Regions from separate parts of the Homo sapiens genome. Here region 2 is linked to region 1. Evidence: promoter capture Hi-C in 16 types of primary human blood cells and fetal thymus (Javierre and others, 2016). All regions are on one chromosome and are shown on one strand. The core of a region is centred on a gene start or on the middle of the fragment in contact, and the rest is flanking DNA. Distances in the headings are between cores, read along the strand shown. Region 1 holds the start of MYOC (myocilin). Region 2 overlaps VAMP4 (vesicle associated membrane protein 4).

Region 1 (2,650 bases), core at 69-2,568:
AACTGCAGAACCAATCAAATAAGAATAGAATCTTTAGAGCAAACTGTGTTTCTCCACTCTGGAGGTGAGTCTGCCAGGGCAGTTTGGAAATATTTACTTCACAAGTATTGACACTGTTGTTGGTATTAACAACATAAAGTTGCTCAAAGGCAATCATTATTTCAAGTGGCTTAAAGTTACTTCTGACAGTTTTGGTATATTTATTGGCTATTGCCATTTGCTTTTTGTTTTTTCTCTTTGGGTTTATTAATGTAAAGCAGGGATTATTAACCTACAGTCCAGAAAGCCTGTGAATTTGAATGAGGAAAAAATTACATTTTTGTTTTTACCACCTTCTAACTAAATTTAACATTTTATTCCATTGCGAATAGAGCCATAAACTCAAAGTGGTAATAACAGTACCTGTGATTTTGTCATTACCAATAGAAATCACAGACATTTTATACTATATTACAGTTGTTGCAGATACGTTGTAAGTGAAATATTTATACTCAAAACTACTTTGAAATTAGACCTCCTGCTGGATCTTGTTTTTAACATATTAATAAAACATGTTTAAAATTTTGATATTTTGATAATCATATTTCATTATCATTTGTTTCCTTTGTAATCTATATTTTATATATTTGAAAACATCTTTCTGAGAAGAGTTCCCCAGATTTCACCAATGAGGTTCTTGGCATGCACACACACAGAGTAAGAACTGATTTAGAGGCTAACATTGACATTGGTGCCTGAGATGCAAGACTGAAATTAGAAAGTTCTCCCAAAGATACACAGTTGTTTTAAAGCTAGGGGTGAGGGGGGAAATCTGCCGCTTCTATAGGAATGCTCTCCCTGGAGCCTGGTAGGGTGCTGTCCTTGTGTTCTGGCTGGCTGTTATTTTTCTCTGTCCCTGCTACGTCTTAAAGGACTTGTTTGGATCTCCAGTTCCTAGCATAGTGCCTGGCACAGTGCAGGTTCTCAATGAGTTTGCAGAGTGAATGGAAATATAAACTAGAAATATATCCTTGTTGAAATCAGCACACCAGTAGTCCTGGTGTAAGTGTGTGTACGTGTGTGTGTGTGTGTGTGTGTGTGTAAAACCAGGTGGAGATATAGGAACTATTATTGGGGTATGGGTGCATAAATTGGGATGTTCTTTTTAAAAAGAAACTCCAAACAGACTTCTGGAAGGTTATTTTCTAAGAATCTTGCTGGCAGCGTGAAGGCAACCCCCCTGTGCACAGCCCCACCCAGCCTCACGTGGCCACCTCTGTCTTCCCCCATGAAGGGCTGGCTCCCCAGTATATATAAACCTCTCTGGAGCTCGGGCATGAGCCAGCAAGGCCACCCATCCAGGCACCTCTCAGCACAGCAGAGCTTTCCAGAGGAAGCCTCACCAAGCCTCTGCAATGAGGTTCTTCTGTGCACGTTGCTGCAGCTTTGGGCCTGAGATGCCAGCTGTCCAGCTGCTGCTTCTGGCCTGCCTGGTGTGGGATGTGGGGGCCAGGACAGCTCAGCTCAGGAAGGCCAATGACCAGAGTGGCCGATGCCAGTATACCTTCAGTGTGGCCAGTCCCAATGAATCCAGCTGCCCAGAGCAGAGCCAGGCCATGTCAGTCATCCATAACTTACAGAGAGACAGCAGCACCCAACGCTTAGACCTGGAGGCCACCAAAGCTCGACTCAGCTCCCTGGAGAGCCTCCTCCACCAATTGACCTTGGACCAGGCTGCCAGGCCCCAGGAGACCCAGGAGGGGCTGCAGAGGGAGCTGGGCACCCTGAGGCGGGAGCGGGACCAGCTGGAAACCCAAACCAGAGAGTTGGAGACTGCCTACAGCAACCTCCTCCGAGACAAGTCAGTTCTGGAGGAAGAGAAGAAGCGACTAAGGCAAGAAAATGAGAATCTGGCCAGGAGGTTGGAAAGCAGCAGCCAGGAGGTAGCAAGGCTGAGAAGGGGCCAGTGTCCCCAGACCCGAGACACTGCTCGGGCTGTGCCACCAGGCTCCAGAGAAGGTAAGAATGCAGAGTGGGGGGACTCTGAGTTCAGCAGGTGATATGGCTCGTAGTGACCTGCTACAGGCGCTCCAGGCCTCCCTGCCTGCCCTTTCTCCTAGAGACTGCACAGCTAGCACAAGACAGATGAATTAAGGAAAGCACAGCGATCACCTTCAAGTATTACTAGTAATTTAGCTCCTGAGAGCTTCATTTAGATTAGTGGTTCAGAGTTCTTGTGCCCCTCCATGTCAGTTTTCACAGTCCATAGCAAAAGGAGAAATAAAAGGACCGGGTGAGATGTGTCTGCATATGAGCAGTAGAAAGTTGTCAATTGTCCCTTTTGAAAAACTATCCTTTTTTGAACCTTTGCTCAGATTGTTATTTGTACCTTTTGATGTTAAAATGACCTTTATTTATGAAATTACAATAGATTTGGGAAATGATAATAAGTGGTAAGTTTTTGTTTATTTTTAAATGTTCTTCCCTGGCAAAATAAAGAGATGGCACCTCTCTGTCAGTTTTCTTAATATGTTGTTCTGAAAGTTTTCTTACTCAGTCCAATCTGAGAACCTCTGCTTTTAAGTCATCAGACAAATTCTTGAGATGGCTTTTTCTGAGAGGCTCTTCTGTTCATCCTGGTCCCTTCTTGCCTAAAGGTGAGTCTGTGTGT
Region 2 (2,650 bases), core at 113-2,612, 66 kb before region 1:
TCAAGAATATTAAAATGGATTGGTTAAGGTGTGATATACACTCAACTACAATAAGGAGATAATAATCTGAGTAATGTTAAAATTTTCTTAATATCTTGCATTTCCCTTTTGCTATGTTGATAAGTTTAAGATGAATAATCAAAAACATACTTAAAATTGTTAGTGTCTTCAATGAATTTTTCTCTATATCCATCTTTGTCAATCGGCAGTTCACTTTGTAGTTTCCTCATTTCATTATAGTCTAAATTCAAGATGAATTGCGCTTTTAGTTCTACAGTTGACCATAAAGATATTAATATTCACTAGCAGTTAAGTAGTTAGGATATTTCAGAGTTTAATGATCAGAACAAATTCTGTGTAAGTTTGTTATATAAGATAATATAAACCCTAATTTCTCTGAAAGTTTTAACATGCAGAAGAATTAGCTTAATTGTGGCTAGTAATAAGTGCCAATGAAGTAAAGACATGATTACCTATTATTCAGTTTCACCAGTATCAGTAAAATGTGGTCCCTTATGATAAATAACTGATCCATGTTTAGAGTTCAGCTTGATTGTTTGTATTTGTGTATACTTTCTATCTTTTTTTTGTTTTGTTTTAATCCTGTCACTACTAATATGTACTTGGTATGTACTTGTTTTCAGAAGGGGACCATCTGGACCAAGATTTGGACCTAGAAATGATAAAATTAAGCAGTAAGTTTTGTTCATTTGTTTAAATGATAATCATATTTCTGTGTAGACTAGAGATTGGCAAACTGCAGCCTGTGAGCCAAATCTGGCTGCAGCCTGTTTTTGTAAATAAAGTTTTATTGGAACATAGCCATGCCCATTTGTTTTCATATTATCGATAGGTACTTTCAAGCTACAATGGCAAAGTTGAGTAGTTGTGACAAAGCTGTGTCACATTTTATGGCCCACAAAATCTAAAATATCTGCTGAGTGTCTGGTCCTTTACAGAAAAAGTTGTTGACCCCTGATGAAGACTAAATATAACTGCTGGGTTATAAAAACCTAATTCATTTTATTTTCTCAGAATTATAGCTAAGGAAATGCAGGATTGTTGGTTTTTTTATGACTTGATTACCTTATGTCAAATCCATTTATTTAGCATAGTCTGAAGGTCTATTTTGGTTTTAAATCTGTAGCTTGATTCCTATTTTCAGAATGATAACAAAGGTAATATAATAGCTTTAATTTGTTGATGTACTGCATGTTTTTATCTACTTCCAGAATTTTTTCATATCTCTTATTTATCATAACCCATATATTGAACTAAGTTTTATGGCTAATTTGTGGTTTAAAACCTTTGAGGTATATATTATTTGGTGATAGATGAGTATAATATGCTGTAATCAATGTGTCTGATATCGGAAAGATATGAGTCCTGACTGGAGGGGAGAAGGAATAGACAGAGCAGTGAGTCACTTGAGGGAAGGCTCTGGAAACTGACCAAGCTGTAAAGACTAACTGTGGAATGTGAACTGCATGGCCCAGGTTCAAGACCTAAGGAGGGATAATAGTCACTACCCTAAGCCTGGGTATAGATGGCACATTGTGGGAAGGGTTCTATAATGAAGTATCTAGTTATTGGTGAGATACTTGGGCTTTACTCAGGTAGCTGTTGGTGTGAAGAAATATTTCCATACTTAGCCTAATTCTAACTAATGGATTTTGAGATATGGAACCAAAGAACCAATAAATGATTACAGGTACTAGACTGGGTGTATTAGTTTTCTATTGCCATGTAACAAATTACCATAAACTTAGCAGCTTAAAACAACACACATTTATCATCTCACAGTTTCCTTGGGTCAGGAGTTCAGGCACTTCTTAGGTGAGCCTTTTGCTCAGGTTTAACAAGATGGCAATCAGGGTATCACCAGGTATGACCAACTCAGGAAGTTATCAGAATTTATTTCCTGCAGCTATAGATGTCATGGTGCTTCTTTGAGGCCAGTAGAAGAGAGAATCTGTACTGTTTCAAGTCTCTTATTTGACTAAAGATACAACAAGCCACTTTTAGATGCAATTTATTACTTATATAGTAAAAGGAAGAGTAGCCAAAGTTAGTAGCTCTCAGGGTCATTGTCCTGCACACCAAAAATAATGATACAGCTGGGTGCAGTGTTTCACGCCTGTAATCCCAGCACTTTGGGATTCTCCTTCAAAGGAGGATTGTTTGAAGCCAAAAGTTTTGAGACCAGCCTGAGCAACAAAGTGAAACCCCCTTCTCTTAAAAAAAAAAGGGGAGGTCAATGGCTGCAGTACAAATTGTGGGATACTCTATTGCAAAGGAGCTATTTCTAGGCTGTGGTTTTTATAGTCTGCACATAGAGCCTGCAGAAAGTTTATACCGCATCAGAACCTGGGAGGTGATAAGAAACTGCCTTATGATAGTCTCATAAGGGAAACAGGGAGGTGGATGGAAGAAGACCTCATGAGCCACTCATTCTCTCATGTTCCAGGGAGATCACAAGCATTCTACCAGGACTCAAATTAGCTGTAGTTCAAGCCTGTGTGGCATATGTGGATGCCAATGTGTAATGTCTGAACCATTCTCCTGCACTGAGCCAGAATGACTTCTTTATCCACTCACATGTTCTCTTTTGCCTAAGCTGCCACTGGAGAAGAGGCCTCCACTGATGACA

What was found. The method cuts DNA at HindIII sites, captures the fragments that hold promoters and counts their contacts. A CHiCAGO score of 5 or more calls a contact.
Region 2: a contact is called between a fragment that was not itself captured here and the fragment with the promoter of MYOC in region 1, in 2 of 17 cell types (megakaryocytes and erythroblasts). The highest score is 13.3, in megakaryocytes.

Annotation. Positions count from the first base shown.
Region 1 is chr1:171,651,356-171,654,005 of GRCh38, reverse strand. MYOC (myocilin) reads left to right here and starts at 1,318. Exons shown (of 3, transcript NM_000261.2): 1 at 1,318-1,998. The coding sequence starts at 1,395. The HindIII fragment of the contact is 6,597 bases long and covers 1-2,650 here.
Region 2 is chr1:171,717,216-171,719,865 of GRCh38, reverse strand. VAMP4 (vesicle associated membrane protein 4) reads left to right here. Exons shown (of 8, transcript NM_003762.5): 4 at 645-695. Among named protein-coding and RNA genes, the nearest start is that of VAMP4, 24 kb to the left of the region's middle. The HindIII fragment of the contact is 3,201 bases long and covers 1-2,650 here.